Linked DNA regions of Homo sapiens: all the other regions are linked to region 3. Evidence: promoter capture Hi-C in 16 types of primary human blood cells and fetal thymus (Javierre and others, 2016). All regions are on one chromosome and are shown on one strand. The core of a region is centred on a gene start or on the middle of the fragment in contact, and the rest is flanking DNA. Distances in the headings are between cores, read along the strand shown.

Region 1 (5,289 bases), core at 2,512-5,011, 340 kb before region 3:
CGCAGGGGTTGGCATGAACTCCACAATGTCATCCACTGAGATTAGGGAATAGGCTTTATTAAGAGAAAGAAAATCACAAAGCCTGAATCTGCAAGATGGCATGGCATGTGGCCCCCAGCCTCTCCTTTAACAAGAAGCTATGCCAGGGCATCTACTGGATAGGGCTGGATGGGGCTGGGTTCTACTCCAGCCAAGGGTCCAGCCTGGGTCTTCCCTCTCAGAGCCCAGCCTGTCAATAGCATGCTAGCTGTGGGTGCTGGCTGCTTCTATGGGGCAACTTGGGGTCTGTGGGATGTGCAGTCCTCTATGATGAGCCACTAGACCCATGGGAAACTGAGCTTGGGTGCTATCACTTCAGCTGGGAGAAGGAGGCATCTCAGCTGGCTCATTGTCCAGCTGTGGTAGGGATGGGGTAACCAGAGTCCTGTTTTGTCAATCCTGCTCCTTTCAGAACAGTTTCCATACTAAAAATGTTGGATTAAATATTTTCATACTATGCCAGTCTTTTTGCATCTTGCTTCTTCAACCAACATAAGTTTGATAATATAAGTATGTCCTATATTTTCCAAGAAGCAGAATACATCACTTTGCCTATAAAACCATACAGGCCTGGTGCTTTTTAATGGGTAGATGTCTCACTATTGATTCTCTGTCTTTAAAGGTTATAGGTTTATGTAAATGTTCTATTTCTTCTTGAGTTATTTTATGCAATACAATTTTTAGATAGTTATCCATTTAATCTAGATTTTCGAATATTTTAGCATGAAGTTGATAATGGTTCAGGATTTTAAAATATATTTTTAAACTATCTTATTCATTTTTAATAGATGAATCATATACTTACACACAATTTAAAAGAAGTACAAAAGGGAATACAATAAAAAGTACCCATTCCCGCCCCCTACCCAAACTTACTACCAATTGCCGTCTCTTCCAAAGAATCAGGGCTACTATTTAGTTCCCCTTTTTTATTGGCCTCAGAAACCACAGTTTTTAGGCCTGGACTCAAAATGGCACATTTTTCTCTTTTCATAAGTCTTTAGCTACGTGGAACTTTAAAATGTTATATTTTTGTCTTAGATTTCTTTTTTTAAAATGTTTATTTATTTATTTATTATTTTATTTTATTTATTTATTTTGAGGCGGAGTCTCACTCTGTCCCCCAGGCTGGAGTGCAGTGGCGCGATCTCAGCTCACTGCAAGCTCTGCCTCCCAGGTTGATGCCATTCTCCTGCCTCCACCTCCCAAGCAGCTGGGACTACAGGCGCCCGCCACCACGCCCGGCTAATTTTTTTGTATTTTTAGTAGAGACGGGGTTTCACCGTGTTAGCCAGGATGGTCTCGATCTCCTGACCTCGTGATCCGCCCGTCTCGGCCTCCCAAAGTGCTGGGATTACCGGCGTGAGCCACTGCGCCCAGCCTATTTATTTCTTTATTTATTTACTTACTTACTTAGAGACAGGGTCTCACTCTGTCACCCAAGCAGGAGTGCAGTGGCGACCTCTCGGCTCACTACAGCCTTGACAGCCTGGGCTTTAGCGATCCTCCTACCTCATCCTCCTAAGTAGCTGGGACTACAGGCGCACACCACCATGCTTGGCTAATTTTTGTATTTTTTTTTTTTTTGTAGAGATGGGGGTTCACCATGTTGCCCAGGTTGGTCTCGAACTCCTGAGCTCAAGCAATCCACTTGCCTCAGCCTCCCAAGGTGCTGGGATTACAGATGTGAGCCACCACACCCGGCCACTTTTTAAAATTTTTTATTACAGAAACTTTTGAACACAGTACACAAGTAGAGAGAATATTAAAATGCACCCCTTTGTACCCATTACCCAATTTCAGTAATTATCACACATGGGCAATCTTTTTTTTAACCCTCTTGTTTTTAGTTGACATGTAATAATTGTGCTTGTCTATGGGATACAGAGTGATACTTGGATACATGTATACAATGTGTAATGATCAAATAAGGATAATTAGCATATCTATCACCGCAAACATTTTTCATTTCTTGGTGTTGGGAACATGCAAAAGCCACTCTTCTAGCTTTTTGAAAACAGACCACAAACTATTGTTAACTCGATTCCCCCTCCAGTGCTCTGGTGCACTGGAACTTACTCCTCCCATGCAGGTAACCCACCTTCTGCCATCCTCCCTCCTTCCCCCACATGGCCAATCTGCATCCATGTAAACCCCCTTCTCTCTCTTTCCAGATGATTTAGAACCCAATTCCATACTTATAGCTTAAGAAGTCTAGAAAAGAAAAAACAAAATACATTTAACATACGTTTAAATGTATGTTTAAAAGTGTATGTTAATGTATGCCCACAATAGCATGCTGTTGACAGGCTAGGCTTCTGAGAGGGGAGACCCAGGCTGGACCCTTGGCTGGAGAGGGCCGGGTGTGGTGGCTCATGCCTGTAATCCTAGGACTTTAGGAGGCTGAGGTGGGTGGATCACCTGAGGTCAGGAGTTTGGGACCAACCTGACTAACATGGAGAAACCCCATCTCTACTAAAAATACAAAAAACTAGCGAGGCATGGTGGCGGGCACCTGTAATCCCAGCTACTCGGGAGACTGAGACAGGAGAATCGCTTGAACCCAGGAGATGGACGTTACAGTGAGCCCAGATCATGCCATTGCACTCCAGCCTGGGCAACAAGAGTGAAACTCCATCTCAAAATAAATAAAAAAGTCAAAATATCAAATATCTAGTCAGTGTTCAAATGTCCTGCATTGTCTCTGTTTTTATCACTGGTTTGTTTGGGGCAGGTTTGTTGAGTCAGTGCCCTTGCATGCTGGGACATGGGACAGTACAGTTCCTAAGTCTCTTAATTTCTATCTTTCTCCCTCAATTTCTTTTTCATTGCAGTTTCTTTTGTTGATAAAGCCATATTGTTTGTCCTTTGCAATTTTCCACAGTCTGGATTTTTGGCAATTGCATTTCTATGTGTGGCCTGACATGTTCCCACCTTCCCTATGTTTTTGTAGATCCAGAGGCCTGATTAGATTTAGTAAGATGTTTTGGCAAAAATGCCCAATAGATGGTGGGTTCTTCCTCCTGCATCACCTAGTCACAGAATGTCTAATTGTCTCTCTCTGATGTTTAGAGTTTTTTAATGATTTTCAGTGGTGTCAGCGCAATCACTCTTTATAAACGTCCTAATGGTTTTTCGACTTTTCACACAATGGTTTTATCAGTCATTGATGGTTGCTTAGATCAATTATTTAATTTGAGGTTGCAAAGTGGTGTTATTTTAAGTCTATCTTACCTTCTTCATTTATCAGCTGAAAGTGATCTCTAAAGAAGAAATTTCTTCCATTAACTCTGTGGTACCCTGAGTTACAGTTTGTACAGCAAAGTCGGGGTAAATAGTTGGGTTTTTTTCTCTTAGTTTTCTTATTCATTCTACTGAAAATAAGTCAATTCCCTAGCACCTTTTGAAGGCGGCCAATGAAGGTGGGGTTTTTTTTCCTTAGTATCATTATGAACTCATGAATTTTAATTTATTTGATTCTTGATGCTAACGCTGTTCCTCTTTTGCCAGTAGGCCCCCTGAGTAGGTTCCTCTATCTTTTGGCATGACCCCAGAAGTCTTTGATAACTTCCTTGCTTTCTGATGTGACAAGACATCCAGGGCCAGATTGTCCATATCCTGCCCCGGATGCACGATGCACTGTTTCTCCAAGAATCCCTGTGTCCTTTGCTGATGATGCCATGATTTTAAGTTCTCTAATATAGTTTTATCTCTTTGTTTCAGATAATGCTTTTGTGTTCTCACATGTCCTGCTCTCTCTCTCTCTCTCATTTTGTTGTTGATCAGTCTTTCCATAAGATTGTTTATTTCACTAGTCCTTCATTCTTCTTTTTTCTAAATTTACTCTTCTTGACTAGTATCCTGTCACTTCTGAGGACTCATATTTTTGCAACTTGAAAATTATTCTTATTTATTTAAGTATATGTTTCTGAAACTCTCATTAGACACATTTTGAAAAACTTCAAAAAATATCTTCAATGTCTCTCACTCTTTTATCTCTGCTCCCGGCCTCCTTGTCTTTTGGTGCTGCATCCTCCTCTTGGTCTTCCAGATTCCTGATTTGTCCTTCAACGGTGTCTCTGCTCTGCAGCTCACCCACTGTGCTTCACAGTGCAACTCTTCTCGTTTTAATTCCCAAGAGTTTTAGTTGATTCTTGTTTGTGGATGCTGCATCCTCCTGTTTCTCTCCAAGACATCAGTAATATTTATTCTGAATTCATTCTCGCTCTGCTAACATTAATTCTGTGTAGAGAGGGGCCCTGGAGGTGCTGGAAAGCTGGAGCCTGAGATTCTGCTTAGGGAAGCTCCCATGCTAACTCAGTCTTTTCCTCCAAGATAAGGATGAACAGTTGACAATACCAAGCTGTGTTGTGAATCAGGAAAGCCCAAAGCTGTCTTATCTCAGTGACTGTGTGATTTGTGTAGGTTTGCCCCGAACAGTAATGTGAGGATGCAGCAAGATGTGCAGGCCCTCTGACCTGGCTAGACCCTGCCTTGCAGAGACATTGTCACTGTCAGCTGCTCACTTCCTCCTGGGGACTCTGAGGCCCAAGGGGGACAGTGGTGAAATATGACACAGCTTCTCCCCTAGGTGATCAGACTGCTTCCAATGAGCCTGTGCCCTTGGCTACATAAAGAGGAAACATAAATATTTTCTGTGTGTGTGTGTCTGTGTGTGTCTCTTTGTATGTGTGTCTGTGTGTCTGCATATCTATGTGTGTGTCTGTGTGTCTTTGTGCATGTGTGTTTCTGTGTGTGTCTGTATGTGTCTGTGTGTGTGTCTGTGTGTGTCTGTCTGTGTGTGTGTCTGTGTCTCTGTGTGTGTCCGTGTGTGTGTCTGTGTGTGTCTATGTGTGTGTGTCTGTGTGTGTGTGTCTGTGTCTCTGTGTGTGTCTTTGTGTGTGTGTGTGTGTGCCTGTATGTGTGTGTCTGTGTCTCTGTGTGTGTCTGTGTGTGTCTCTGTGTGTGTGTGTGTCTGTGTGTGTGTGTGTGTCTGTGTGTGTCTATGTCTCTGTGTGTGTGTGTGTGTGTGTGTGTGTGTGTGTGTGTGTAAGGTGGGATGTCTCTTCCTGCTGATCGGTGGCCTGCCTGTGTGCTGGCTTGGTTAGAGGAGTTTCGTGCTTCTCTTTATGGCGCTGCTCTTCCTCAGATGCTTGCGGGTGCCTGGGTGGATGCTGACTGTTCTGCTCGGGATTCCCCGTAGCTGTCTGTGAACACAGCATTTGTCACAATAGCCTGCGAAGAGGAGGG
Region 2 (5,525 bases), core at 3,003-5,502, 260 kb before region 3:
CCCCTCTTCCTATAAGAACGTTAATCTCATAAGGGCCCCACCCTCATGACCTCATCCAAACCTAATTACAGCTCAAATATCCCATCTCCAAATAGTAATTTTGTATTTTAATACAATACAGGATGCCAGGAAGAAGGCCCTTGCTAGCCCCTGACAGTGCTGGCGCCCTCCTCTCAGATATCCAGGGTTTCACCATGTTGGCCAGGCTGGTCTTGAACTCCTGACCTCAAGTGATCCGCCTGCCTCAGCCTCCCAAAGTGCTGGGATTACAGGTGTGAGCCACCACGCCCGGCCCCTCTTCTTATAAGAATGTTAATCTCATCATAAGGGCCCCACCCTCATGACCTCATCTAAACCTAATTACAGCTCAAATATCCCATCTCCAAATGGTGTCACATTGGGTATTAGAGCTTCGACATATGAATTTGGTGGGGGGCGGGGGACACAGTTCAATCCATGGCATAGGGACTGACTGATTTGTCCCAGGTTGTGTGGCTGCTTCTCAGTAGCAGAGCCAGGTTTCATCCCAGGACTGTGGGACTTCAGCCCTGGACCAGCAGCTACGTGCTGTTAAGTCTCTACTGCCACACGATGGTATCTTGCAAAGCCCACATGGATCACGGCCGCCTTTGGACCCACAGGCTGAGGTGAGGCCAAGGTTGCACAGGGGCTCGTGGTCTTCCCCAAAACTCAACAGAGACAGAACTTTCCTAGTTTTTGTGCTGGTCACACAACAAGGCCAGTTCAGCAGAGAGTACATCTAGGTAAACAAGCTCTTTTTGTTCCATTATCTTCTGTGAGACACAGGGGAAGGTATGGAGCTGTCCCTTTCATTAAACAACCAGCTCTGCTTCTTAACCTCAAAGCTACAACTTCCAAAGCCAGCTCTGCTCACAGAAATATCCCTCAGGATGCTGGCCCAGAAAACCAGAACCCACATCCAGGTTGTTTTAAACATAATACAACTTTCTTCTTCAGTTTGATAGATGGTTGTTGGCAAGTACAGATAGTATGAGGTAGGGATGAGTGACGCCACAGAGGCCAGGACACATTTGCAGGAGGTGAACTAGGGAGTTTGCCGCTGCTACGCTCTTGGATGAACTGGTGTGCTTGTGTGTTGAGTATGATACACATAGAGATCTGTCCCATAAGAGCGTGTGTATTTATATGTGACTGAAAAAGGAATATCAGTGGACCAGATAAAAGAGTCCAAAAATAGACCTCAGTAAACATAGAAATACATCGGGAGTCCCCAGCGCCCCCCAGGAAGCGAACCGGTATTGGTCCCTGGCCTGCTAGGAACCAGGCCACACAGGAGGAGGTGAGCGGTGGGCCAGTGAGCATCAGCGCCACCTCCTGTCAGATCAGCGGCAGCATTGGATTCTCATAGGAGCGCGAACCCTATTGTGAACCGCGTCTGTGAGGGCTCTAGGTTGTGCCCTCCTTATGAGAATCTAACGCCTGATGATCTGAGGTGGAACAGTTTCATCCCTAAACTGTCCCCCTCACCAATGCTGCAGTCCATGGAAAAATTGTCTTCCACAAAACCGGTCCGTGGTGCCAAAAAGGTTGGGGACTGTTATTATGTAATATATGACAAAGGCAGAACTTCAACTTAGTGTAAAAGGATGCTTGCGTGCGTTAATAAACGGTGTTGATATTCCTGCCTGGAAGGGGGACAAAACACGATACTAGATTACAACAATCAGGTTTAAGTATAAAAAAAGAAAACAATAACATTTAAGGAATATAGGTATAACTTTGCTATGAGGGAGATCTTTAAAATCTAGTTGGAAAATCCAGGAATAATTTTTTAAAAAGACTGAAATCATTGGCTTCATAAACATTCAAAAATTGTGTTCAGTGGGAAGCATCATAAACCAAGTCATAATGCAAACAGACTAAGAAGAAATATTTGCAACACAAATTGTTGCAACACAAATTGGCTTAAGTCCCTGATATACAAAGAATGCTTACAAATTGATTTAAAAAAAAAAAAAAAAAAGACAACACAATAGGCAAAAAAAATGGGCAAGGGATATAAACAATTTTCAGAAAAGGAAGTCCAGAGGGCCAGGAAACAAATGAAAAGGTCCTTAACCACACGAATAGGGAAATGCAATTATGAATTTCATAACTGATCCTTTTATAAATGAAGAGCCTTAGGACTGTAGAAATTGAGTCCAGACATAGGGATTTCACTTAGAAGGAAGGGGAAACAAACACCATCTTCTCCTTCATGCCAGGCGGGATGATGGGTATGAGAACAGGAGCTAGTGTAGACCTCGGTCACGCAAGCCACTTGCTGTGTGGATTAGAAACGTGTCTCCAGTTTAGAAATGCCGAATCCTTCCTGGGACCACGGAGGAGTGTGCAAGGAAGTGGGCTCAGCACTCAATGAGACGCCAGTGGGGAAAATCACAGGCATGCATGGAAAAGCACCATAGGACTACGCGCGGTACCAATGCTCTAGAAAGTGACAGCTGGCAGCCCGCAGAAGTACATCTGGGGAGCCATGTGAGGGGGCCGCGCCCCTGGGAGGTTCTCTGGCAGAGGTGAATCTTGGCCTTGGCAGATGACAAAGGCCTCTTGATTCTTTAAACTTCATCTAGAAAGTTGAGGCCCACACCTGAGTGAAAAGAAGGCGGCTCTTTGCAAACCCTTTTCCTCAGTAGGGTTATTCTCCCAGGGCCATGGACCCTTGGGTAAGGAATTATCTACAAAAGACAGCTTGTTTGCAGTAGGATAGTAAAATTCCAAGTAGATTTATGTACATCCAAATAGTCATATTTGTGCAGTGGCCTCATCCAAAAATAATTTGGATGGCCGTTTTTACGGTAAAAATCAGACCAGCAGAGTCATAAATAACTTATGAATAAATAATTACAGTTCTTAAATACCTTGAACTGTGTTCTCCCCAGCTCAGTGCCCATCGTTTTCAACACTGGGCCAGGAGGTCTGTTACAGGTGTTGCCTCTGTTTGCAATCATAGCTCATTATTCCAGCCATCTCTTACTTAAAGAGGCTTCATAAACACCGTAGCGAAACTTTAAAAGTTTGGAAAGCACAGAGGCCAGGTGTTTAGAATGTGTTCTCTGGGGAGAAAGTAAGCCTTTCTCATTATGACGTTCTTTCATGAAAATGTGAATTAGGGCAGGCTAATATTGATCATCTTTTTTCATTGAAGGAAAAAAAAGGAAGCTTTTTGAACATTTCCTTACCTAGCAAGGACTCATACAAAGCCATCTTTAGAAGGCCGGTGCACCTTTATTTCCGCAGGAGCCCCTGCAGTGAGTCCCATTCACAGTACAGCTAGCTGGGCAGATTTTCCAGGCATTGGTTTTGGTATTCCATTATCGGCTCTCCCTGAATGTTCTCAGAGGCCAGGTTACCCATTACCATTGTTATTGCAGCTACATGTGTGGAGGAAAGCCAGAGCCGAGGCGGGGTAGCTATGATCAAGGGCAACCGAGCCTGGTTTCAGCCCAACAAAAGAACTCCGGCTTCTCTATTTTCCATGTCTGGCAGGGAACCCTATGAGAGGGCTTTGAGGCAGTTGTTTAATCTTGAATTCTCCGAGCTCCCAGGCATGCTGTCCTGCCCCCTCTCCAGGCCTTAGTAGGGAGGATAAAGGCACTTCAGAGATTCTGCTGAAATCCAAACCTCTGATTCCCATCAGTGTGCGTTTCCAAGCTCTTTCTCAACTCAAATGCTCTGGTGCCCGTGGAAACAGCAAATTTGACATGATTTTCATGGTAATCTCATAGTGAGCCTAATTAATAAAGTCACTTAAATACTAAACAGTTGGCTGGCTTTTCAAAGAATGGCATTGTAAGAAGCATAAAAACAGCCAACTGTGGTATATTTTCATTAACTAGCTTTTTTTCATGGAAAAAGCAACGCATGTATATTTTAAAACACCGTTTTTGAACAGTAGCAAAGGGCATGGGATAAATATTCAGTCCTCTAGTAATTCCTTTCCCCAGAGACAACTATGGAGTTCAGTGCATCTCTGGTAACCATTGTGTTCCTGTCTAACAACTGTAACCTCTGTGCATACACATGTGCAGGTGTGGTGTGTGTGCATATAACATATACATGGTATGCGTGTGTGTGCATGCATGTGTGCACACATTTTCTGCTACACTAATAAGCCTTCTAGATATCCGGTTCTGAACTTTTTTTTTTTTTTTTTTTTTTTGAGATGGAGTCTTGCTCTGTCACCCAGGCTGGAGTGCAGTGGCACAAACTCAACTCACTGCAACCTCCACCTCCCAGGTTCAAGTAATTCTCCTGCCTCAGCCCCCCCGAGTAGCTGGGATTACAGGTGCCCACCATCACGCCTGGCTAATTTTTGTATCTTTAGTAGAGACAGGGTTTTACCATCTTAGCCAGCCTGGTCTTGAACTCCTGACCTTGTGATCCCCCTACCTCGGCCTCCCAAAGTGCTAGGATTACAGGCGTGAGCCACCAGCCTGGCGCACCTTGCCTTTTCAATTGATGGGTAGCTCTTGAGTATTACTTCATACCCCCATATATGTAGACCTGCCCCATACTTTGTAATAGCTGCAATTATTCTATTACTCATTGAACCAACCCCCTGTGGCTGGACACATAGGTTGTTGTAGATTGTCCTCTATCTCTGCCACTGAGTGTCCTCATTCTCACATCTTTGCCACACATGCATGCAAAGCTATCTGTAGAATGAGAATTGCTAGGTCGATGAGGTGAGCATTTTGTTCTGATAGGCTTGCCAAAATGCCCTCTGGAGGTTGCATCAGTTTATACGCCCACCTGGTCACCACGCTGTGACGGTCCAGAATTATTTTTAAATGCAGTCTGCTTTGCCATGTCTTTGCAGCAAGTGTGCTGGAATTTCCGGCCTTCCTAAGTGAGTCTTTGGAAGTCCTTTGCCTGAACGACAACCACCTCGACACAGTCCCTCCCTCGGTTTGCCTACTGAAGAGCTTATCAGAGCTCTACTTGGGAAAGTAAGTACACATCTGGAGGGGCCGTGCTGGCTCTGCTGGCCCAGAGAGGCAGAACGCCCATCCCTAAACCAACTGGGACACAGAAAGCCAGGCAGAAAGAAGCCATCTACTTTCCAAGAAGCAGTAGTGAGATTTTCGGAACAGGGCTTGATCAAGGAGGTGGGGAGAGAGGAAGACGGAGTAGCAATGCAATGATACACACTTTCACTACATCACTTGGGCTGTGATGAGGAGAACCACTCAATCATTCATCCTTTCATTACTGAGCTCCCATTGCATGCCAGCTACTGCCAGGGGTTCTAGGCAGTGTGCAAAGCTTGATGAGAGTGTAAAATGTTATATTAATATTAAAGGGACATCGCCTTCTCGGGAAGAGGTAGTGATCATCTTTATGGGGATGTACTTAGTAGCAGAGACAGGAAAGTTGGGGGAGGGGACTCAATTCTAAGCCGTGGGGATTTGCAGAAGACAGAGCTGCCGTTTCTATCACTGATCCTCCAGGAGAAAGCCTTTGGAATTAGTGTTGAAATCAGG
Region 3 (5,971 bases), core at 2,328-4,827:
AGCCAGAATCACCAAGGATTGCTTATTTTCGTTTGTGAGTCCCATCTTCCCAGATTTGAAATTCTCAGGGATGGGATGAAGACAGACTGCTGTGGCATCATCCAGAGTCCCCGGGGCAGTGCTGCACACAGGAAGCAGCTTTGGATGAGCATCTGTCTGCTACTCCTTGTTATTTGCAAGAAACAAGGTGGTCCCAGCCAGAAAGACCAAAACCACTGTGTTCCAGCTCCTTGACACTCATCTGAAGATTGGCAGACAATTCCTCACCCTACTTAGCTCTCCCTCTACGGGGCTGCAGAAGGATCAAGTTAGAATACTATAAGTACAATCCTTCTAAGTACTTAGTGAGGACCTAGGAGGTGATTTGCATCTGTTTCCTTTATTGAATCTTCACAATCCTAAGGAATTAGTCTTAATTTATGGACAAAGAAACAAACAATCTTGTTCCTAAAAGGTAACTATATCCTGTAAGTGTTGAAAATCTGTTAACATTTGACATCAGTGGTGCTTACCTCCTCCCCGCAAAGGCTTTCTGTCCGATTTCCGTTTCAGGACAGATGAAGTGGAAGGCCCAGGACTGTCTTCCTCCTGTTTGAACACACACAGTAGTGTAAGAAGCAATTAAAACATTCTACTTGGCAATCTTCATCTACCGCATGCCAGCCGGCCGAGGTCTCCAGTCACCTGGGGCTTCTTTGCATTTCCTTTGTAACTTTTTCCTTCTTGCATGCTGTCCCACATTTCAATCTTCTGTCTCCTTTTTTCTTCTTCAAGCTGAGAAACAATCACATTTTACAGAAAGAATTCAGAAGCTGCCATTTCTCTCAAAGACAAAGCTAACTCTGATAATTCTTAATTTAAATGTCTTTCAGAACAAACTTCACCCTCGTTTTCTTTAGTTAATAAAACTGTTGTGATCTGGTAGTGTGAGTTTAACTCACATAGAGCAGCTTTGGTTTTTGTACACTATTAAAGAAAGCAAAATGTTTCATGAAAAAGATTACTGACTCCATTCTTCTGAAACTCACTCCTGTCAGGACATTTTTGGTAATGGGGAAGACACAGGCACATGCACACACACACTCACATGCTCCCTGCTCCAGCCTGTCCCTCCTTTTGTGCTCTGGACCTTTCATGGTAATATATTCACACATCTAGTGTTCCCTAACAATCGTGTATTCTTCTTGATATCACCAATACTTACATGGTAGGAACTGAAATGCTTATTGAATCTAATGGGATAGGACCTGGTCCTAGAAGCTTATAGACAACACAGACACAGGCATCGTTAGCCACTAAACCTCAGACAATTTCTATGCACACATTCAAACTGAAACCAGTTCATACTTGTTTCAGTTTTTCCTTATGCTTTTCAACTTGCGCATTTAGTTCTTCTTGCATTTTCAGTCGAGCAGCTGCTAAAGCTTCTTGTCGTTTAACAACAACATCAGGTTCTAAAATGTCAGAAAAAAATGGAGATAAAGCACTGTGTACAATATAAAATAGAAACTTTTGAGTGTCCATATTATTAAAAGTATAAAGAGGTATGGATATCAGACAATGAAACAACATATTTTTACATAAGTACTCCTAACCCCTCTGCATACATTTTACTGCTTCAGGGGGCAGGGGTCTGTTGCTGAGCCACGGATTTTAGCCCGAAATATCTACATCACCAGAAATCTGTTAGAAATGCCAATTTCTGAGTTCCCCTGAGCAATTCCGATTCATAAAGCCTGGGATAGTGGCCACACAGAGCACATCTTGGATACCTCAGTGACACCCACAGTCTCTAGGCTGACTAGAATCCTGGAAGACTACCAAGGAAATATAAAGTTTTCTAAATCATTATCCATCCCTTAATTAGCGCAGAAGATTCTTAAGTATTTGTTTCTACAGAAAAGAAAAATCCTTCCAAATAGCATTATGAATAGAAATGAACTCATTTCTATTCATAACGTCTACTCATAGAGTCTCGCTCTTTGCAACAAGGCTAGACTCCATCTCATAGAAAAAAAAAAAAAAAAGAAAGAAAAGACAGTCTCACTCTGTTGCCCAGGCTGGAGTGCAGTGGCACAATCTCAGCTCACTGCAATCTCCAGCTCCCAGGTTCAAGCGATTTCTCCTGCCTCAGCCACCCTAATAGCTGGGATTACAGGTGCCCGTCACCACGCCCCACTAATATTTGTATTTTTAGTAGAGACAGGGTTTCACCATGTTGGCCAGGCTGTTCTCGAACCCCTGACCTCAAGTCATCCTCCTGCCTCGGCTTCCCAAAGTGCTGGGATTACAGGTGTGAGCCACCGCGCCCCACCGAGAACCATATACTTCCTACTTTTTTTTTTTTTTTTTTTTTAAAGACAAGGTCTCAATCAATTGCCCAGGCTGGAGTGTAGTGTGGCCCGAGCATAGCCCACTGCAGCTTTGACTCCCTGGACTCAAGTGATTATCCCGCCTCAGCCTCCTGAGCAGCTGGGACTACAGGTGCGTGCCGCCACTCCCGGCTATTTTTTTTTTTTTTAAATAGAGACAGGGTCTTCCTGTGTGGCCCCTCTTACTTTTACTAAGAGACTAACTCTTAATATAAAGGAGGTGCAAAACCACCGCTTTCATTTCGGTTATCAGGCACTAACCCACAGCAGCCGCAGCTCGGTCCAGCTGCCTCTGCCTCAAGGCTCTTAGCCGGGCGGAAAGCTTCTGAAAGACCACGTAGAGAAGGATGCAGCTGAAGACGATGTACCAGCCATAGGTGGCCAGCAGGGAGCCCACTGAAAAGAAAAACAGTTTTCAAAAAACTAAAAATGACACTACTAGTTGACCTTTCCATAAGACTCAACAAACACAAAGTGTAACTCCTGCCCTCAAAGCCTTCATGGTCTAGGCTGAGGAAAAAGCCTCCTAAGTAGATCGTTAAAACACGAACTCAAGAAGTGCGACAATTCAGGGATCACTGAGAAGTGAGACTTCCCAACCATCTGGGGAGTCGGGGGCAGTTAGAGTGTGGAGGGCACAGCAACTGGGTTTTGAAGAATGAAGAGCAACTAATCTGAATCAGGAAGGCAAAGGCCTTTCAGAGCCACATAGAAAGGGGTGACAGCGCGGGGAGTCAGGAGTGTGTATGGGGCTGTGTGGGACGGGTCCCAGAGGCAAACGCCAACGGCCGAGTGACCCCAGTAACTACCACAGGAAGGGCTTGGTTCGCAAAAAAGACTTGCGCAAACAAGGGACAGCCGAGCCGCCCAGGGAAGTGCGGCTCCCGAGAAGCCTCCGCGCAAGGTCCGGGCCTGCTGCCCAAGGTCCGCGTAAGCGCCAACGCCCGACCGTTCCCAGGCCTCCCAGGCTCCGGCGCCCGGTGCAGCGGCGGACGACCCACCCATCATGGCTGCGCGTCGCAAAAGTGGCGGCGCGCGCCCGGCTGCCCCGCAACGACTCACCCGTGGTGTGCAGGAAGCGCAGCCCCTCGGTCTCCAGGGCCGGCCGCGCGGACAGAGACTCCTCTTGGCGTTCCATGACCGCCGCCGCCGCCGCCGCCCAGCCCTGCCGCCGCGCCTCCAGCCGGGCGCTTCCGGTGCGCTCCTACGCACACGTGGCGCGCCCGGACGCGGTCGTGGTCCCGGCCAATCGCAGGCCGACCCCGCCCCGTCGCTGGGCCAAACGCAGGGGGGCGTGGCCGAGGGGCGTGGCGGGGGAGAAATCCCGGCTACGCTCGCCGGGGCCGGGACAGCGCGTGTGGGAACGTTCTGTGCTATCTCTTGGCTTGAGTCGGGGGTGGAGGACGGACCTCGTTCACGGATTTCTTACCGAATTTCTACTTTCTTTTTTTTTTCTAATTGGACACTGAAGCCAAGGAAGTCAGTGGTCGCCCGGAAGCAGGATTTGCACCCACATCCTTGCCCGGGGCACATTGGACAACAGGGCTCAGTTGGTTGACGACTCCCAGCATTTGAGGGTTGCAGCCAACGTCCACCCCAAGTGAAGACACGAAATGTGAGCAGCCTCCTGCTCCTGCTGCTGGTGATACCTTTCAGGCCAAGAAAGTCCCCACCGATCCTCAAGGTTCTTTCTCCAAAATCAAAGCCTTTTAGGAAAGAACGATCATAGTAACTGCTCTAACCTGTGTTGAATTATACTGTATCACCACAAGACACGATCACAGAGTTACTTATAATAGTGTCCTGGCTGTGTTCCTCTGCCTGCAACGCCGTCCCGCACCCTCTTCCACCACTCAAACGTCACCACCTTTATGGTGACCATAACCATCCTATTTGAAATGTGACCTTGGGTTTTTCTGGAGCATTTGAAGTGCACATACCTAGCTGTGTTTCAAAAGAAGGGTTGGGAATTGGGAATAGAACTGAAAAAATAATGAATAGGTGACAACATCCGAGTGCTGCGTCACCACTGTCGCCAGGAGCAGTGTGGGGAAGGCAAACCATGACATGAAGCGTGAACGCAATCAGTGTTTCTTCAATGCAGGTTTGCCAAGAAGTTCCTCAAGGGGGACAGCTGCAGGGATTTGAGCACTGACCTCATCAAGCTTTCCCAGCAGTGTGTTCAGAAAGCAATAAAGGGGACCTGGCATTCATGAGCCATAGCAAAGAGAAGCCTGAAAGCTCTTCTTCCCTGTTGGCCACCTTGAAAATGGACTCCTCAGATGAACCGAGGACTCTGGATGTTATCCATAAAGGCTGTGAAGATAGCTTATCGATTTAATGAGGAATTTTAGGAGGGAGAATTTCCTTCTTCATGTTTGCCTTTCCGTTGTAAAAGGTGATGAACCATCACCACTCTTTGCTTTGCTACAGATGATTTCTCACTTGCTCTGGCATCTTGCAGGAACATTTATGTGCTAAATTGAATGACTTCTATGGAATTAGTTGCAATTCTCAGTCCCAGATTAGCTTTAAATCCGCCTTACATCTAAATACTGATAAACTAGACAGGATGAGCAGGGTTGCCTCAACTATTTTGTTAGGCTGTGAAGGACATTAGGTATACCGTACTGGGGTCATAGTTCATGGAAAAAAATGGTTAGGGCCTCACTTTTCTCTCAGGAAACTCATACCAAAACAGTTTCAATCAATGCTTGGGAGCAGTTTTATTTTTATACAGTAACTTAACAGGATGGTTTAACACAAGAGTTCCCCATCTTGACAAGGTGTCAGATGAAGACTTGAGAGCTTCAAGAATGTTGCAGTGGGCCAGGAGTGGTGGCTCTTGCCTGTAATCCTATTGCACTTTAGGAGGCTGAGGCAGGAGGATCACTTGAGGCCAGGAGTTCAAGACCAGCCTGGGCAACACAGCAAGATCCCATCTCTACAAAAAAATTTGGCCAGGCACGGTGGCTCACGCCTGTAATCCCAGCACTTTGGGAGGCCGAGGTGCATGGATCACCTGAGGTCAGGAGTTCAAGACCAGCCTGGCTAACATGGTGAAACCCTGTCTCTACTAAAAATACAAAAATTAGCCAGGTGTGATGGCGGGCGCCTGTAATCCCAGCTACTAGGGAGGCTGAGGCAGGAGAATCGCTTGAACCTGGGAGGCAGAGGTTGCAGTGAGCTAAGATTGTACCACTGCACTCCACAGCCTGGATGACAGAGCAAGACTGTCTAAAAAAGAAAGAAAAGAAAAGAAAAAAAACCCACAAAACTTAGTTATGGAAGAAGATCCTAAATTGCAAAGATTTGTTGTTGCCGGCTTTCAATCCATGTCAATGAATTAAAGTCAACGTGCACAGTATAAAAATGCCAAAATGTTGCATCTGATTAAATGAAGGGAACGTTTGCTTTATTTGCCTTGTTTAGCTACCTTATCCTGTAATGTCTGTAATCACAAAGATGGAATAAATTGTAACATTTTAGGTTCTATCATTAAAAAAAGGCAACAATCCTTTTCACTCAGGACTTTGCGATATAAAATGGAAACCAGTATTAACTCATGAAAATAATGCACATTCTAAGCATATAGAAAA
Region 4 (5,232 bases), core at 821-3,320, 290 kb before region 3:
CAAGCTAGTGTTCCCCTCATGTGTCTGAACAGAATGAGGTTATGGGCAGAAATCAGGGCAATTTTAGGGCCCATGAGAAGCATACTAAGACAAGACATAGGAGGGCAGAGAGGAGCTTGGGTGCTCCTGAGGAGCCAAAGGCTGACCTGCCTCTTCTCGGGGAGCCCCAAGATTAGCTCTGTTCTAGCCCTGAAGAGTCTGCACCAGCTGACTCCGTCACCTAATGTTAGCTAATATTTATTGAATACTGTCAAGTGCTGAAAACTGTGTAGAACGTGAGAGACAGATAATTTTTTTAAAGATTTTCCCAGCCATTTAGTACCTCCTGGCCAAGCAGGGGAAATTGAGGCAGAAAGGAGTAACACTGTGCAATGTAACTACACTGAGGTTGAAGTATTTTTACGCAGAGGTCTGGGAGCACACATCAGGGGGCAGGGTAGGGTCTCCGAAGGGAGGCTGACATCTGACCTGGGCTTTGCAGAGTGAATAGGAGTTTACTTGGCAGACAAGTGAAGGAAGGACTTGGGTTGCCTGCTTTTGCAGAGCAGGAAGTGTGGCTGAACCTCGTCATGGTTTTCAACTGCTCCCAGGAGCATCGTATCTTCAGCTCAACTCTGAGCAAAGCTGCTGAGGACTGAAGGATTTCAGACCATTGTGGTGGGCTTTGCAGAAAGTGCAGAGATGGGCAAAACAGTGTGTACCCATCCCTGCACTTCCTGCAAAGGAGTTCCCAAGCTGGAAGGGAAGTCAGCCATGGTCAGGAGTAAGTCAAGACAAGAAGACAAACAAGAGTCAGGCTGGACATGCTGGCTCATGCCTGTAATCCCAACAATTTGGGAGGCCAAGGCAAGAGGATCACTTGAGCCCAGGATTTCATGACCAGCCTGGGTAACATAGTGAGACCCTGTATCTACAAAAAAAAAAAAAAATTTAAATTAACCAGGCATGGTGGCACATGCCTATATTCCCAGGTACTTGGGAGGGTGAAGTGGGAGAATGGCTTAAGCCCAGGAGTCCAAGGCTGCAGTCAGCTATGATCACATTACTGCACTCCAGGCTGAGATAGAAGGAGACCCTGTCTCAAACAAAAAACAAAAACAAGAAGCAGCTAGAGAACAAAGGAGGGTTTGAGAAGAAGAGGGATGAGAGGTTGATGGGATGCATTCTTTGAAGCACGTTGTTATGTGATTCCTGGTCTCTGAAGCTGAGCAGGGAGGAAGAGGGGCTCCTCTGAGTGTCGTTGGCCTTAGGCTGTAGAGAGTACCTGTAGGGGTTTTGTGTGGTTAAGAGAGCACCCTTTGATTTTAGACAAAGCAAGGTTTAAGTCTTGACCTTGCTATTTACTAACTGTGGGACCTTCAAGAAGTTTCCCTGCCAGGTGTGTCCCACAGACCCTGGCTGATGGATGAAATGAGTACTCAGACACAGGTGTACGGTGTAAGAGCAGCTGAGTCACTGCCTGGCTCTGTTGGCCAGAGAGCAGCCCGAAGAAGCTAGAGCTGCTTGCTTTCATTCAGTGCAGGCACAATGCCGAAAACCTGGAGCCAACACAACCTGTAGGTAATTAACATTTATTGTTCCCCTTTCAGGGAACATCAAGCCAGCAGATGATCAAAGGTCAGTTCCTGGTCAACATAAGTAAACAAGCCTGTTTAAGATACATTCCCCTACACTCCTTGCCCTCTGCCTTCAGCTGTTCTCCCCCAGGGCTCTGCAGAAGCTTCCAAACTTTCAGAAGGTTTGTGTCCTTTCCCTGTAGTTTTTCCTACGACTCTGACCAATCTCCTACATTTCCAAACCTCTCTGAGCTTTGGTTTCCTCATCTTAAAATCATGGTCCTGAAATATAATGCCTGCCTCCAAAGACTGACACATCCCCATCTCAACAGAAGTTACTAGCATGGTTACTGTGTTTCTCTTACCCAGATATTCTTGTGTAAGTGGATTAGGGGTCACTTATTTTCTGTTAACATACCTACAAATCATTAATTCTGGTTAACAGTAGAGGGAGAAGAAGGGATATTTACTTGGCACTGGCTCCAGCCTCAGCCCTATGCTACATGCTTTATTTGGTGAATACAGGGCCATCCTGACCCCGGTTTCCTGATCAATGTCCTGTCGCGAAGGAGAGAGTCACTCTCTCCTCACTTGGGAGCACTTTGATCCCTAGGACTATGTGCCTCTGGAAATGAGGCAGTGTTATGATGCATTTGGGAAGTGTCCCTGCAGAAGATGAGGTCATTTTTCCATGGCAACTAGACCCAAAAGATATTGCACTATTTTGAACTTGAAGATATTGTAACATTTCAGCCCACACTGCCCCCGTCAATTCAATGTGCTAAGTGTTATTTCATCCTGGAATTAAGTAGGTGGTTCTACTGGGGAGAAATTGTCACTTTTAGGCCTGACAGATCTTTCACCAAAGCTTTTATTATTATTATTCATGAAAGTAATATATGTATATTATAGATAATTTTAAAATGTGGGAAAGTGTCAGTACTTTAATAATACAATGACACAACATCATGAGTTAGGGTTTATTGATCCAGGCACTTGACATGCATTTTGTGATGTAGTCCTCACATTAAACTTGGAAGAATGAGTATTATTATTCCGATTTTACCAACAGGCAAACTGAAACAGAGAGAGATTAAGAAATGTGTCCAAAATTACATACTAAATTATTTTATTTCTAAAATGCCTGTCTCCAAAGTTCATACTCCTGCATGTAATGTTACCCTAGGGGAGGGGTGAGGGCAGGGGAGAGCCCAGAGAAAATACCACAATGCTGGGGTAGTTGTTTCTAGTCTTATTTCCACACACCCATTTTTTATTTGGCTAAGATCATGCTGGATACGCCATTTTTAATCCTCCATTTCATCACTCGGCATTATCTGACAAGCAGGTGGGTGACTGATGTGGGGAAATGTCATATGCAATTCAGAGAGACTATTCCAGAAAACACTATCAACTCAACAGAAGCAACTTTCAGCTGGAAACAGGACAGCTGGGTTTTGTTTTGTTTTGTTTAACTTTTACTTTAGGTTCAGGGGTACATATGCAGGTTTGTTACGTGGGTAAACTGCATGTTGCCGGGGTTCGGTATGCAGATTATTTCGTCACCTGGGTAATAAGCATGGGACTCAATAGGTAATTTTTTAACCTTCCCCCTTTTCCCTCCCTCCACCATCAAGTAGTCCCCAGTGTCTATTGTTCCCTTCTTTGTGTCCACGTGCATTCAATGTTTAGCTCCCCCTTATAAGTGATAACATGCAGTATTTGGTTTTCTGTTGTTGCGTTAGTTCACTTAGGATAATGACCTCCAGCTCCATCCATGATGCTGCAAAGTACATGATCTCATTCTTTTTTATGGCTGTATAGTATTCCATGGTGCAAATGTACCACATTTTATTTAACCAGTCCATTGCTACTAGCGGTCTAAGGGAAGAGCAGAGTGGGAACAAACAGCACCCTTCAGTGGCACTTTCCCTTTGTCCTGCCATCTCCTGCCAGGTCCCTGCAGTCCCCAGCGGCTTCTGAACTGGATGCTGGCCTTGGCTTGCCAGCGAGGGCACCTGGGGGTTGTGAAGCTCCTGGTCCTGACGCACGGGGCTGACCCGGAGAGCTACGCTGTCAGGAAGAATGAGTTCCCTGTCATCGTGCGCTTGCCCCTGTATGCGGCCATCAAGTCAGGTGGGTTTCCCCACTACCCTGAGTCAACCCTGACCGTGCAAACCATCTCAGCCTCCAGATGTGGGACTGTGTCTTTATTCTCACTCTTGGCTCTCAAATCACCTCTGTGAGGAGACTTTTGCAACTCCTGTTCTATGTTTCTTTTTCAAAATATCTGCACCCTTCCTCATTTCCTCCTTACTTGCCCCCGCAAGGGGATTTCAGTGACAGAGACTGACTGTGGCTAATGGGACTGTTGTACGAGGCACTCCAAAGGGCAAAGCCCCACAGAAATTCTCCCACTAACAGAAACTTGATGCACCAAGGGAAGTAAATAGAGAAGTCCAACATGCACAAGTACCTTTTCAGTTTCCATTCCACATATCAGAGTCTGCCCTTCCAACGACTGTGACACTAGCATCTGCATGCCCTTAGCTTTTTGGTTTTGTTCCTTTAGGGAATGAAGACATTGCAATATTCCTGCTTCGGCATGGGGCCTATTTCTGTTCCTACATCTTGCTGGATAGTCCTGACCCCAGCAAACATCTGCTGAGAAAGTACTTCATTGAAGCCAGTCCCTTGCCCAGCAGTTATCCGGGAAAAACAGTGAGTAGTCACTGCCTGTGGAGTGTGTTTTAGTTCCTTTTGTGCTGCTGTAACAGAATCCTGCAGACTGGGTAATTTATAATAAACAGAAATATATTTGGCTTACAGGTCTGGAGATTGAGAAGTCCAAGAGCATAGTGCTGGTATCTGGTGAGGGCCTTCATGCAGTGATATGAAGGTGGAGGGCAAGAGACCAACAGACTGAGAGAGGGAAGAACTCACTTTTATAACAACCCACCCTCAAAATAACAAACCCACTTCCACAATAACAACATCAATCCATTTATGAGGGTGGGGCCTTCTTGGCCTAATCACCTCTTAATGGTCCCATCCTTATCACAACAGCAATTACATTTCATCATGAGTTTTGAAGGGGACATTCAAGCTATAGCAGGGTGGGAGCTGAAATCTGGGCTTCATCCCCCTCCCAGAGTTTTTGTTTTTGTTTCTGGTTTTTTTTGGTTGTTTTTTTTCTCTTTTCCTTTTTTCAAAAATTGGTTAAATATATCATATTTAACATATTTCTTTTTTAAATTTTTATGTGTTAAATTTTAAAATTACTAAAGTTATGAATGATTGTTATAACAAGTGATCACAATTGAGAGTGGTAATCAAAATTATGAATCTTCTGCCCTTGAAGTAAATAGTTTAACAACCTGGTAGGGATCTTTTCACATCCTTCCACATGCAATGCTATAAAAACATTTACAAAACTATACAGGGTTTAGTTTTAATTTCCCATTTTAATAACAAAAATATTATTGCGTTATTTACATTGTCTTCAACTTGGCTTTTTAAATTTAGTATTCTATCATGGACTTCCTCTAGATCAGTTATTGTGGCTTCAACTCATTCTTTTAGGGACGTTCTTTAAATACATAGAGCCAGTGTCACTTAGTTGACATAGCTCTCCTGCTATTGGTGGACATTTGAAATAGTTCTTTTTTTTTTCCTG
Region 5 (5,787 bases), core at 2,071-4,570, 330 kb after region 3:
CAAAAAAAAAAAAAACTAAAAAATTAGGCATGGTAGTGTCCACCTGTAGTCCCAGCTATTCAGGAGACAGAGACATGGGGATCATATGAGCCTAACAGTTCAAAGCTGCAGTGAGCTATGATCAAGCCACTGCACTCCAGCATGGGCAATAGAGCAAGACCCAGTCTCTATAATTTTTTTTTTTTAAAAGAAAGGTGATCATTTTATATAAGCAATTTTCTCCATGTGTTATGTTATTAAAGATTTAAACTGGACTCAGAGTTCAGCAGAGGGGAAGAATCAGTGTCCACTAATGTCCTGTTTTCTCTTCCTGCATGATTTGCGGCAACTTTGAAAACTCCCTTTTTCTTTGTGTGCCAAAAAGTCTGGCTTCTCAGCCTCATTCCCAAGCGGCCTTCTCTGGGTTATGGAAGGAATCCACTTGCCTCTGGAGGAGGGCTACGCAAAGATGTCCACCTCCTCACATATCTTGTAGGACCATGGCATGAGGCAGAGCCCTGGCCAAGTACTCCACGAACCAGATCCAGCTGAAGTAATTATTGCATTCCAAGATCCAAAGTGTATCCAGCCATGGGAACAAAAGCTTCATCTTATGTTCCAGTGGGACTGGCTGCTTGCAGTGCTCTGCGGAGAAGGATGTAAAGGCCAAGTTCACACTCTGTGGGAAAGAATGCCATGGTCAGTGATCAGCTAGTGATGTCTGTCATGATCACAGGGATGGGAAGTGGAGGCAGGCTTTCCACTGATGATGCTCCCTCCATTCCTTACAAAATCTTTCCCCCTTGTCCTGAAGGCCTTTTGAATAAGCTCTGCATCCAGTTGTGTCTAGGTACTTTTAAAAACAGAAAGGGCACAATCGGAAATGGCAGCCCAAGGCCCACCCAACCCCAGGTTAGGTCCCATTGATCTTGTCAACTGTTCATTCAAGAAAAGAAAGGCGGCTGAGCGTGGTGGCTCATGCCTGTAATCCCAGCGCTTTGGGAGGCTGAGGTGGGCAGACCACCTGAGATCAGGAGTTTGAGACCAGCCTGGCCAACATAGGGAAACCCCGTCTTTACTAAAAAAAAATAAAATAAAAAAATCAGCTGGGTGTGGTGGTATAGACCTGTAATCCCAGCTACTCAGGAAGCTGAGGCATGAGAATTGCTTGAACCTGTGAGGCAGAGGTTGCAGTGAGCCGAGATGGTGCCACTGTGTTCTAGCCTGGGCAACAGAGTGAGACTCCATCTCAAAAAAAAAAAAAAAAAAAAAAAAAAGGAAAAGAAAGGAAAGGCAGGCCAGACGAGAGGTCCAGGAAGTCAGGCAGGAAGCTGCAGGTTTGTGTTGGGTGGGAACATGGGGGTGATAGTAACCCGGCATAGGGCAGCCACAGGCAGTGAAGACAGAGGGAACAACAACCCCCCATCGATGGATTGTACTGGGAAGAAATGCAGAAAACTCACAGCCTCATCTTCCGCTGAAACACAGGCATCCTCGGAGGTGGTTGATCCAGATCCATTTAACCATCTGTGGATGGAGGTAGCTGACCACGGTGGGTGACAGGCTCACCATAGAGCTCGGGACTGCAAGGTCCACCCTCAGGTGCAAAGAGCACTTTACCTTTTCGGGGGCCTTAGGCTCCCTCTACCTCCCTACTGGAAATAAGTATTAAGCAGTGGTGGGCTGATAAATGCTCAACAGCTGGCCCTCTGGAGGGAAAGATTGTGTGTGTGTGTGTGTGTGTGTGTGTGTGTGTGTGTGTGTGTGTGTGGGGTGTACATACACATATAAATGAAGAGATAATTTATTATAAATGTTACTGATATAAAGAATGTACAACAAAACATAATGATACAATATCCTTTATTATAAGCTGCATATAGTTGGTTGATCCTCACAGAATGCCTTTGTTGAGTTTTTCCAAACTCTTGTATCTACAGCCTATGTCTGTTTGCATATGATGACTAAGTGTGCTTTACACATGAGGGTTGGCTATTTTCATTTCGTTTCATTCTCATGAGGCTGATATTTTCATTTATGTTAACAAGTAAAAGTGAGACAATGAAGGCGAATATCAGAAGTTCACTTATTCATCAATGTCACAAGTGACTTCCTTGCTGAATCAATCAGGCCACAGTTTTTAAGCACTGGAAGAATAAATCCTCAATTTTTTTGCTTGTCACAATATAGGGGTGCATCAGTGTAGTAGGTTAAATAATGGCCCTCAAATAATATACGCAGATCTGAATCTATGAAGCCTGCAAATGTATCTTATGTGGCAAAAGGGACTTTGCAGATGTGATTGAGTTGAGGATCTTGAGAAGGAGACATTATCCTGGATTACATGGGTGGGTCCCAAATGCAATCACAAATGTCCTGATAAGAGAGGATAGAGGGAAATCTGACATAGAAGAGAAGGCCATGAGAAGACAGCGTGGAGAGAATTTTGAAGACGCTAAGCCACTGCCTTTGAAGGCGGAGGAAGGGGCCACGAGCCAAGGAATGCAGCTCTAGAAGCTGGAAAAGGCAAGGAAACAGACCCCCCTGGAGCCTCTGGAGGGAGCGGCCCTCATGGCACCCTGATTCCATCCTGCTGAAACTGATTTGGGACTTCTGACCTCCAAAACTGTAAGAGAACAAATGTGCCTTGTTGTAAGCACCAGGTTTTTGGTAATTTGTTACAGCAGCCACAGGAAACTCACACAGGCAGTTTTTAATCTATTGCATCTCAGCTCTGAATGCACCTTTCAATATGTGCTTTAGGACAAAGATTGGAACCTTTTAACCATTTTGAATTTAAAGTGAACAGGATGTGAAGCTTTCTCAGTAGACGGTGCTGGAAGGACTTTCCTGTAATTTCCAGGAAGGTCAGCCAAGCGGAGACTATCCCGTGGAGTCGGACGGAGCCTCAGAGCCAGAACACAATGACTCTGTGGCCATGCCTGGCGGTGACTGTCTACACAGCAGCTGGCCTCCGACCTCACTACGCAGCCTGCCACTTCCTCTGCAACCTCTCCACCCGCCAAGCAACCTCAGCACCCAGAAGGCCTTCTGCCCTGGGGGCACTCAGTTTCCCACTGCAGTTCACGCCTTTGGTTACTAATCACCTGTTCCCTGCCTGCCCTCCAGAGGGTGCCTATTGTGTGTCCACCAACTCCAAACCAGCTGTAGCTGTGTGCTCTGGGCTAAACTTCATTGCTATCCAGTGGCTGAACCACACCCTCTCCAGCTATGTCTGAACCCCAAACAACTTCATTTTTACTTTGGGAGCTCCCTCAGCCCTAGGATACTGCATAGAGCTTCTTTTTATCTTACTCTTTTTTTTTGAGACAGAGTCTTGCTCTGTTGCCCAGGCTGGAGTGCAGGGGTATGATCTCGGCTCACTGCAACCTCTGCCTCCTGGGTTCAAGCGATTCTCCTGCCTCACCCTCCCGAGTAGCTGGGATTACAGGCACCTGCCACCAGGCCTGGCTAATTTTTGTATTTTTAGTACAGATGGGGTTTCACTGTGTTGGTCAGCCTGGTCTCGAACTCCTGACCTCATGATTCGCCCACCTCGGCCTCCCAAAGTGCTAGGATTACAGGCATAAGCCACCGCGCCCGGCCTATCTTACTGTTTTACAACTGTTAATAATTTTAACTTAAATTTCCCCTGTTTAACCTGCTGTGTGATTTCTGTCTCCCGATTAGAGCCAGACTGCTACAAATGGCCCCAGACATGACCCACTTATAAGTTGAATCTGTACTATTAACAATTTTTTATTACTTTCTTAAGCCTAGAAAATCAACAAAACAATAACACAAGCTCTGATTTGCAGTGTTTGCCAACTTCCATGGTGTAAATACTCCTATCATGGCCAATCCCAAGCTTTCAATGTGACGTCACAGATTGTGGGCTTGGGAAGAGATGCCCAGTAGCTGTCACTATATACTCTTCCCACGGCATTGATATAATAGATGCAAGTAACCCTCAAAGCATAGAAAATAGCAAAAGTAGTAAAACTCATTGGGAAGGGGTGTTTGTTAACATATTTGATTATAAGTTCATATGATTAATTGTGAATAATGCCTATATTTACAACTGGCTCACAAAATCTGAGCACATTTAACGCTTGGTTCTATTGAATGTTACAAGCCAGCTCCAGCACAGCACTGGGATTAAGGGCCCCCAGCAACAAACCAGGGGGAGCTCCGCATTCTTTGGGCAATTGCTGGCCCCCTCTGGCATCAAGACAGGTCTCCGGTTCAGCCTGTGGCATTGAGATGGGGCGGTGGAGGGGGGACAGAGGAGAGGGTGCAGGCAAGAGTTTCTCTGTTGCAGGATTCACTCAGGACCTCCCATTGCTCCTGTTTTCTGCCCTGACGTTGATGCCCCTTCATGTCCTGGCCCGAGGATGGAGGCAGCAGCCTTCCCCTGGACCCTTTCCGGCACGGTCAGACCTGCCGTTTGCCATGCATCTGAGAGTCCTTGAGGTCATGGCAGCCGCTCTTTTGCCCCCACTTGAGGTCATTGAAGGAGAGTGAGGGAATGGCTGTAGGTATGGTGGTCAGCGAGTCAGGAGTCTAGTCCCGACCTTACTCCTGGCTGGTGGAAAGACTGGGGGCCAGTCGGTCACGCTCCCAGGCCTGAGGCCCCACCTGTGCGGTGAGGGTGGGCCTGATGCCACTCTGAGGACTGATGACCCTGAGGCTTCTTCCAGCTCCAGGATGAAGTCCTGCCTCACGTCCACCTTAATGGCAGGCACAGTGATGCCACCTCCCAGGATCTGGCAGCTGCAGGGGCATCAGCAGGTGCTGCGGTCCTGCTGGGATAGCCTATCCCTGGGAACTGGCCCCAGACGCTGATCTCAGGACCTGCCATCAGATAGCTCAGCCTTCGCCAAGAGAAAACAAAATGCAGGCAGGTCATCTGATCTTCCTTTTCCACTTTCCCAGGGACCAACTAGCCTTTATAATAAAACCCAGAGGAGACAGTCCCTTCCCAGAGATAAAACCCTTCCCAAGCCGTCCCTGCTACTAGGGCAACGCTGGGCGCTGCGCGGCTGGCAGGGAGCCCCAAGAGCTCTCTGCCAAGGGGGCTGGGCTGGTGGGGCCGAGGTCCCAGAGGCTGCCTGCCCAGAGCCTGTGCTAATGAGGGAAGAGGGCTACACTCCGCTTTGGAGCACCTCTCAACAGAGGGGACACCTTGGGGTCGGGGGTCAGCATGACGGATGTCTTCAAGGTTCAGTGTGCAGACAGGACCAACCTCTCCCACAAGCAAGATGCTAAGGGAAGACCCCAGAAACAGCAAGTGCAGGACATGTGAGTATGGGGGTGATGCAGAGAGCCTCACAGTACCCAAGGACAGGGTCGGAAAGACCTGAGGTGAGTGGACCGCCCTGGCCTGGGAGGCAGCCTGTAGACTGTGGGGCCAGTGACGGTCCCCTCCTCCCAGGCGCAGTCCTCCCCTTCCTGCGTCACCCTCTGCACACCCCTCTCCATTCCTGCTGTCATGCTCGGGCCAACGTCCCAGGTCTAACTAGTGAAGCCTTTGCAAGCTCCACGCTGCACTCTTAGAGAGATCCTACTCAAAAGCAGGGCTCAGAGTGGACTTTCTTAGAAGAGACTCTCTTTTCTCTGACTGCCCTTCACCAGTGCCCTACCCAAGGCTGCCCCCGCCCTGCCCCCACTTGCTCATTTTATCACCTGCCCCTCCTCCCCACTGTTCCTCCAGGCCTCAACCAAAGGCCCTCCTTCGGGTCATCCTTTCTTCCTTAAAACAGCGTCTGATGTCTGACCTAGTTCAAGAAAGCCGTGGCTCAGTGTCCG

Evidence for each region. Contacts are between HindIII fragments. The CHiCAGO score rates a contact against its expected background, and 5 or more counts as called.
Region 1: a contact is called between a fragment that was not itself captured here and the fragment with the promoter of SELENOS in region 3, in 1 of 17 cell types (monocytes). The highest score is 5.9, in monocytes.
Region 2: a contact is called between a fragment that was not itself captured here and the fragment with the promoter of SELENOS in region 3, in 10 of 17 cell types (megakaryocytes, M0 macrophages, endothelial precursors and 7 more). The highest score is 14.9, in megakaryocytes.
Region 4: a contact is called between a fragment that was not itself captured here and the fragment with the promoter of SELENOS in region 3, in 2 of 17 cell types (M1 macrophages and M0 macrophages). The highest score is 5.8, in M1 macrophages.
Region 5: a fragment that was not itself captured here is called in contact with the fragment with the promoter of SELENOS in region 3 in 1 of 17 cell types (megakaryocytes); the score reaches 6.5 in megakaryocytes.

Annotation. Positions count from the first base shown.
Region 1 is chr15:100,936,414-100,941,702 of GRCh38, forward strand. All of the region lies in intron 2 of LRRK1 (leucine rich repeat kinase 1), which reads left to right. Among named protein-coding and RNA genes, the nearest start is that of LRRK1, 20 kb to the left of the region's middle. RefSeq lists an enhancer at 5,125-5,264. The HindIII fragment of the contact is 8,526 bases long and covers 1-5,289 here.
Region 2 is chr15:101,016,192-101,021,716 of GRCh38, forward strand. It overlaps LRRK1 (leucine rich repeat kinase 1), which reads left to right. Exons shown (of 34, transcript NM_024652.6): 13 at 4,862-4,991. Among named protein-coding and RNA genes, the nearest start is that of LRRK1, 100 kb to the left of the region's middle. The HindIII fragment of the contact is 2,106 bases long and covers 3,200-5,305 here.
Region 3 is chr15:101,273,908-101,279,878 of GRCh38, forward strand. It overlaps SELENOS (selenoprotein S), which reads right to left and starts at 3,578. Exons shown (of 6, transcript NM_018445.6): 1 at 3,435-3,578; 2 at 2,634-2,768; 3 at 1,348-1,454; 4 at 685-774; 5 at 513-588. The coding sequence starts at 3,510. RefSeq lists a silencer at 3,454-3,783. The HindIII fragment of the contact is 1,843 bases long and covers 2,693-4,535 here.
Region 4 is chr15:100,985,122-100,990,353 of GRCh38, forward strand. It overlaps LRRK1 (leucine rich repeat kinase 1), which reads left to right. Exons shown (of 34, transcript NM_024652.6): 5 at 3,513-3,692; 6 at 4,129-4,277. Among named protein-coding and RNA genes, the nearest start is that of LRRK1, 68 kb to the left of the region's middle. The HindIII fragment of the contact is 704 bases long and covers 1,719-2,422 here.
Region 5 is chr15:101,605,378-101,611,164 of GRCh38, forward strand. It overlaps LINC02348 (long intergenic non-protein coding RNA 2348), which reads right to left. Exons shown (of 3, transcript NR_147041.1): 3 at 1-658. Among named protein-coding and RNA genes, the nearest start is that of LINC02348, 6.1 kb to the right of the region's middle. The HindIII fragment of the contact is 1,050 bases long and covers 2,796-3,845 here.